Linked DNA regions of Homo sapiens: region 2 is linked to region 1. The links are contacts of gene promoters, found by promoter capture Hi-C in human tissues and cell types (Jung and others, 2019). All regions are on one chromosome and are shown on one strand. Each heading gives the region's core, a stretch centred on a gene start or on the middle of the fragment in contact. The rest is flanking DNA. Distances are from core to core; before and after follow the strand shown. Region 1 holds the start of NUDT14 (nudix hydrolase 14). Region 2 overlaps SIVA1 (SIVA1 apoptosis inducing factor).

Evidence for each region. Contacts are between HindIII fragments. The study calls those that stand out against the background at their distance.
Region 2: a contact is called between a fragment that was not itself captured here and the fragment with the promoter of NUDT14 in region 1, in 1 of the 25 tissues and cell types used here (mesendoderm cells).

Annotation. Positions count from the first base shown.
Region 1 is chr14:105,179,491-105,183,141 of GRCh38, reverse strand. It overlaps NUDT14 (nudix hydrolase 14), which reads left to right and starts at 1,830. Exons shown (of 5, transcript NM_177533.5): 1 at 1,830-2,013. The coding sequence starts at 1,933. RefSeq lists a silencer at 1,661-2,130. The HindIII fragment of the contact is 11,467 bases long and covers 1-3,651 here.
Region 2 is chr14:104,759,460-104,763,110 of GRCh38, reverse strand. SIVA1 (SIVA1 apoptosis inducing factor) reads right to left here. Exons shown (of 4, transcript NM_006427.4): 4 at 3,457-3,651. The coding sequence ends at 3,626. All of the region lies in intron 1 of LOC107987209 (a long non-coding RNA gene), which reads left to right. Among named protein-coding and RNA genes, the nearest start is that of SIVA1, 8.1 kb to the right of the region's middle. RefSeq lists enhancers at 1,821-2,767, 2,768-3,651. The HindIII fragment of the contact is 8,734 bases long and covers 1-3,651 here.

The DNA of each region.
Region 1 (3,651 bases), core at 581-3,080:
TTTTTGAGGAGCCGCCAGGCTGCGTCCCACAGTGGGCTCCTTGCTGATATTTTCAGGCACTCAGCTCTGCAGTCTGCACTGCCAGACACCTGGACCCGAGTGAGTCTGAGGAGCACGGTGCTTTGAGGAGCTGCTGGCTCTCCCAGGGGCTCCTTGATGGGGCTCCTGTTGCCTCTGCCTGTCCCGGGGCTGCTGCTGCTGGAAGCTGAGACTCATCCTCATTTTCCATGCAACCACGGGCAGGAAGGAGCCTGCACGCGACATGCCAGGGTGCGCGCTTACCCTGGGCCCCTCGTGCACCGGAGGAAGAGGCCTGCCTGGCTGTGGGGTAGGGTGGGGCCAGCTTCTGGGCTGGGCGCTCTGGCTTCCGGGACACCAGGCGGAATGGCTAAAGCAGGGAGACACAGGCCCCTGTAGAGCTACTGGGGCGGTGACAGCTGGACTTGGATGCTGGCTTCATGACCGTGCTCCCCAGCGTTCCCACCTGGTGATGTCCCTCCCCTGGAATCTGCCGGAGGCCCAGGACTTTCTGACCCACAGGATGCCCCAGGAATGACACCATATGACATCTGAGGCCAGGTCACACAAAGCCTGGCAGCTTGGCCTGGCCTGGTGAACGTGCTCTGGAGGGAGCCAGCTGCCACGGGAGAATCCAACTACCCCGAGACCACCATGCTGCAGGGAAGCCCACGCCAGCCACATGGGAGGCCAGCCGGCCCTAGCTGTTCCAGCCACCCAACTGAGGGCGGGGGCGAAGAGGCCATCCTGGACGGTCCACCCCGTTTGGCCTTCAGACGACTCCAGCCCCAGCTGCCACCTGATTACAACTGCAGAGAGACCCCAAGACAGGGCTGCCTGGCTGAGCTGGGCAACCCACAGGCCAGGCGATAACGGGGTGCTTTAAGGCACTAAGCTTTGGAGGAGTGTTTTGTTACACGGCAATAGTTAACAGGGAACTGGGAGTCGATTTCAAGCTCACATGGCCAGTCCACCCTGAGCATGTCCCCTGGGCCATAGTTCAGAAAGCAGGTGCAGGTCAGGGTTCAGGGCCAGTGTGGGCCTCAATATTGTTTCCTGCCCCCGTGGAGGCCGTGGTGGCATTTGGAGGGGGTCCTTGGAATCCATGCCCAAGGAAGCACTGAAGCTGCCTGGGACCCTCCCACACCCAGGAAGGGCCGTCATCAAGGTAGGACTTGCAGGGGGAGGGAAGGGCAGCTGGCTTTTGAGTGGAGGAGGGACAGCTCCAGAGACAGCGTGGCAGCTCCCAGCCACCCTCGCCACCAGGAACCTCGAGGGGAGGCCCCCTCGGCCCAAGCTCTGGCCCCTCCAGCTCCCTACTCTCCTCTCCCCTAGCTTCCTTCCAGGGCCCTCTCTCTTTGGTCTCCTGTGATTTTCTTCCTGGGCCCACAGTCCCTCCCTCCCTGGGGGGCTGCCCCGCCCCCGGCCCCGCCCGCGGACCCCTGGAGTAACTTAATCTCGGGGTTGTGGTCCATCCCCAGAGTGGGGAGGCATCCGCTCGGCCCATCGCACCCCAAAGCTGCAGGCCCTTAGCTCCAACCACCGCCAGGCCCTCCCTCCCCCAGCCAAGAGGTCCCGAGTCCCACCCAAGCACTGTACCCCGGCCCGGCTGGCCCCGCCCGGCGGCCGGGGTCGACCCGGCCAGTCCTTCCCCCGGGCGACGCCCACGTGCCTGCGCGGCTTCCCTGGCACCGCGGCGACCAGCGCCCCGAGGCGCGCGGCACCCGACAGGTGGCACCTGCGAGCCCCGCCCACCTCGGCCGCCCCGCCCACCTCGGCCGCCCCGCCCCGCGCGCCCACGGAGCATGCTCAGAGCCGCGGTCACGCGCCCGCCCGAAGGCTCCTGTCGGGACAGGGCGCCGCCCCGTGTCGGCCCCCGCAGAGCTCGCGGCCCCCGCCTGTCCGGGCGCCGCCATGGAGCGCATCGAGGGGGCGTCCGTGGGCCGCTGCGCCGCCTCACCCTACCTGCGGCCGCTCACGCTGCATTACCGCCAGGTGAGCCCGCGCCCCCGCGTCCCCCGCGCCCCCGCCGGCGGCCCGGCCCACGACCCGCGCCCCGCCCACCATCTTCCGCGCTGCCGGCCCCGCCCCGGAGCCCCGCCCCCGCCTCCCGCCGATCTCCCGGGCGGCCGCTTGTCCGCCCGCCGGATCGCGGGTTCCCAGACCCAGTGAGCCCCCAGGCCGGGGAGGGGCCGCGGGAGGGACATCTGAGGGGGCACCACTCATCCTTTCAAGGAAGCATTGCTGGGCCCCATCCTTCCCGCCCGCCCAATCCGACCCTCTTGGCAGTGGAACTCCTTGGTTGCCCTGGGGATCAGGGAAGGCTTCCTGGAAGTGGTGGCTTTCATGCTACCACTTGAAGGAGGAGATAGCTGGGCCGAGGAGGAGGGAGCAAGGAGCGCAGAGGCCGGGCGCAGGGAGGTAGGAGAAGGAGCTGAGTGAGAACTTGAGAGAGCCTCTCAAAGCAGGCTTCCTCCTTGGGGTTTTTTCCAGGGAGGGCACCTCCTTGGAGTCTCCATCTGCCTAAGCTCAGCCTTCCCCACCTCCTAGGGTGTCACCTTCTCCCATGCCAGGCCACGGCACAAGAGGCTGTATTGCCTCACTTAGCACCAGGCACATGGTAGGTTCACAAGGAATATTTTGTTTTGTTTTGTTTTTGAGACAGGGTCTTGCTGTCGCCCAGGCTGGAGTGCAGTGGCATGGTCACAGCTCACTGCAGCCTCAACCTCCTGGGCTCAAGCGATCCTCCTGCCTCAGCCCCCGCCCCAGTAGCTGGGACCACAGGTGCACACCACCACACCTGGCTAATGTTTAAATTTTTTTGTAGAGACGACGTCTCACTGTTGCCCAGGCTGGTCTTGAACTTCTGGCCTCAACCGATCCTCCTGCCTTGGCTTCCCAAAGCATGGGGATTACAGGCATGAGGCATATGTGTTGGGTGAAGGAGCTGCTGCCATCCTTTTCCCACATCCAGTGGATCACTGAGTCCCGGGCCGTCTTCCTCCAAGCCCAGCCCTGTCCAGTTAGGGCCCCACCTTTTGCTTGCATGCCCACCTGCCCCCAGCAGATCTCCCCTCTGCCAGAGCTCCTTCATGCCATTAAGGCAAAGACCACCTTCCTGGTCACAGTCAGTCCAGCCCCCCAGCCTATCAGGTCAGGTGGTCCAGGTCGCAGTGCCTCTCTGCCTGCCTGCCTCCCTCCCTCAGGGGGCATCCTGTCCCCCCCATCACATCCAGGACTCTGCCCCTCGCCATCCTGGAGAAGCCCTCTTGGCCCCCAGCCTGAGAGAGGCCCTGTGCCCCTCACTTTCCCTGTTGCGGGAGTCCTGTTGGCGCTGGAGGACAGGGGATCCCTCTCCCCAAGGCGAAGCTAAGCTGGTGGTGCTGGCAGGGGGCAGCTGGGATCAGTCGGGGTACAGCAGGTGGAGACATGGGGTCACTGCCCTTTTCCCTGACGTTGGCCATATGGGATGCCTGCTTGTGGCTGCACAGTCCCCACAGGGCTGGGTCTCAGGCAGCAGGTGCAGGCCCAGGCAGGTGCCCTCTGTGGCCCTGGTGGCAGCACTCTCTCCCTCACTCCCCGTGAAGCCTCAGGGCAGCCCTTGCAGCCTCAGCGGGCAGCCCGCCGGCACAG
Region 2 (3,651 bases), core at 1,152-3,651, 420 kb after region 1:
TTTTTCTCTGGCTGCTTTTTTTTATTTGTCACTGGTTTGGAGGAATTTCATGATGATGTGCTTCATGTAATTTTCTCCATGTTTCTTTTGGGGTTTGTTGAGCTTCCTGGATCTGTGGCTTTATGTTTCCACCAAATTAGGAAATTTTACAGTCATTATTTTATTTATTTATTTATTTAGAGATGGAGTTTCGCTCTTGTTGCCCAGGCTGGAGTGCAATGGCACAATCTCAGCTTGCTGCAACCTCCGCCTCCCGGGTTCAAGCGATTCTCCTGCCTCAGCCTCCCAAGTAGCTGGGATTATAAGCACCTGCCACCACGCCTGGCTAATTTTTGCATTTTTAGTAGAGACAGGGTTTCACCATGTTGGCCAGGCTGGTCTCAAACTCCTGACCTCTGGTGATCCGCCAGCATCAGCTTCCCAAAGTGTTGAGATTACAGGCGTGAGCCACCACGCCCGGCCTGCCGTTATTTTTTCCAAAAGTTGTCTCCACCCTGCTATGCCCCTCGTCCATGGGTCTCCAGTTAAAGGCACAGTAGGCTGCTTGAAGTGGTCCCACAACTCAGAGGGGCTCTGCCATTTTCCTCATTTTTTTTCTGTTCCCTTTTGGATAGCTTATATTGCAATGGCTTCAAGTCCACTAATTTTTTGCTCTGCAATGTCTATTTTGGTTTTAATCTCATCAGTGTATTTTCCATCTCAGACATTGTATTTTTGTCTCTGGAAATTGTTTGGGCCATTTTTATGTCTTTCATTCCTTTTCTTAACATGCTCCTGTTTTCGTCTATCCTTCTTAATAATGGCCATTCTGATGTCCCTGTCTACTTAGTAGACGGAATTATTCTACCACCTTGTGTCATTTCTGGGTCTGTTTCTACAGACTAACTTTTCTTCTCATTGTGTGGTATAGTTCCTGCTTCTTTGCATGTTTGATTGTTTTTTTTCTTTTTTTGAGACGGAGTCTCACTCTGTCGCCCAGGCTAGAGTGCAGTGGTGAGATTGAGATCTTGGCTTACTTACCTCCACCTCCTGGGTTCAAGTGATTCTCCTGCCTCGGCCTTCCGAGTAGCTGGGATTACAGGCACATGCCACCGTGCCTGGCTTATTTTTGTATTTTTAGAGACGGGGTTTCACCATGTTGGCCAGGCTGTTCTCAAACTCCTAGCCTCAAGTGATCCACCCGCCTTGACCTCCCACAGTGCTTGGATTACAGGCGTGAGCCTCTGACACCCGGCCTCGTTTGTTCTAAAAAAAATAAGTAAATAAATATGTTTTCCCCCTTACTTTTGAGTTTTGTTCTGGATGCTATTAAAGCACTTGCAACCGTTTGGTCTTTTTGAGGCTTGACTTAAAGGTGTTAGGAAGGCACAGAGCAGTCTCTAGTCTAGGGCTAATCTAGCCTGAATATGGCATCAATATCCTTTTGAGTCCTCTACCCTGTTCTCCATGAATGATGTTTCCCCACACTTAGTGCTGGGAATGTGACTTGCTTCCCGCTTTCTTCCAATGGCTCTTTCCCCAGCCTCAGGCAGTTTCCTCACACACAGGAGCCATCAGTCCTCAGCAGGAGCCTTAGGGGAACACTGAGGCAATTTCTACTCCAGTGTTGCAGCTGCCCTGGGCTCTTGGTGTTTGTTCCCTCTCTCAGGCGTTACTATCCTGCAATGGCTGCTGTCCGATGTCTCTCTCTCTATATAGTCATCTATGGGCCAGTTTTTGTTGCTCCACCACAGCTGGAAGACCAACAATATTTACTGCAAACATATATGCCAGGTACTGCTCTAGGCAAAGTCCCACCCCTCACGGAAGCGACACCTCAGTTAGTAGAGTTAGAATAAGTACATTTGCATATTTACTTAAATATGCATTACGTCCAGTGGTAAAGTTAGGTAGGGCGAGAGGGAGCGTGATGGAGGGGTTGTCCTACACATTAGGGCACTGGGATGCTTCTCTGAGCTGAATCCGGGGGAGCCCTATGGATGTCCAGAGGAAGAGCTCCCCAGGCAGAAGGAGCGAGGGGGGTGCAGGGGAAACATGCTGAGCATTCTCAGAACAGCAGGAAGGCCTGGCTGGGGCAGAGCAAGCCTTGGGATAGGGGAGGAGGGGTGAAGCCAGAGGCTGTGGGGCCACAGACTTTTACTTTTAAGGACATGTTTAGCCACTGGAGTGTTGGGACAGGGGAGTGACAGATCTGGCTGCTGTATAAGGACAGACTGCCAGGTGCAGGGCAGAAGCAGGGAGCCTGGAAGGCGCTATGTAGTGACCCTATAGGGGAAGGAGGCAGGCTGGCTGGAGTAGTGTGGTCCTGTGGGGCAGGGATGTGGCCAGAGGATGTGAAGGGAAGAGCCGACAGGCCCGAGGGGGCAGCGACAGGAGTAACAGAAATGAGGGCTTGGGTGGCAGTCTGTTGTGGAAACCTGGAAGGAGTCAGCACGTGGCTGACCGTGGCCACTTGCTCCCGATGCTCGCAGCAGGCGGTCAAGGCCGTCCTCATTGCAGGAAGCCCCCAGCCAGTCCTCTGCAATCCCCTTCTAAGTTGCCCCCTGGAATTTTACCATGCTGACCACCTCTCTGAGCGCCCCCTCTACCCGTGACACGGGAGTGGTATATCCTCGGCCCCAGGGCAGCAAATCCCACTCTGGGCCTGGCTCCAACCCACCACTTGGGCACCACTGACTTTTCTCTAAGAATCAGCATAATTTGCTCTTCTAACAGCTTCCCAGGAACAGCAAAGGCTCTTCTCAACTGTCCCCAGCACATGCTCCCACCCACCCTCTGCCCCAAACAACCTTTACTCTAGTCCAGAGCTTCTCAGAGGGGCTGTGGCTCAACTGCTCACTCATCCCTGGAGGGGCTGGGACCCGCCTCAGTCGACTTGTGTGGGGACCAGCACTCAAGCAGCCTGCCCTCTTCTGTCCTCCAGGCCACCCCGCCTCCTCTCCTGTCAACTCCTCTTCCTTCAAGGCCCCACACAAGCTACACCGACTCCAGAGGGAGCACAGCTGGGCCCATCTCCCCTGCTAGAGCAAAGCTCCTGGAGGGCAGGGGCCTATCAATCACACGGGGCCTGACCATACAGGCACCAAAAAAGTAAAGTGGACACCAAGATGTGATGGATCAGGCGTGCATGACAGTGGCGTCTGGGGATGGGGCGCGAGTATCACCTCTCTCCGTGAAGGTCTAGTACACTGGTTGTGTACCCTGGAGCCAGACCTGGGTCCTTTCTCCCCATTTACCAGCTGGGCGAGCTGGGGAGGAGCGTGCTCTGGGCTGAGCCTTCCCACCTGTAGCAGGGGGCGAGTAAGGGGCCTCACACAATGCACAGTGGGGTCTCTAGGAGCTGGCGGGTAGACAGCAGGTGCAGCAGGCCCCGCCCACTGACTGCTCCTTTGGCCCTCCCAGGTGGAGGGTCACAAACTCCACCCTCAGAAGTGCTGACAGACAAGAGTCCTCTTGTGCAAATATAAAGAGGTTTATTCATTCTGTCATTAGGATACAAAATAGAACATGTAAAAGGCACCCCTCCCGTCGACCCCACAGTTCAGTGTGAACACCGAGCGCTCGTCCAGGGAAGGCTGCCATGCACGGCGTGGCTCCCGGTGAAGGCAGCCGGCTTGAGCCAGCCTCAGGTCTCGAACATGGCACAGCTGG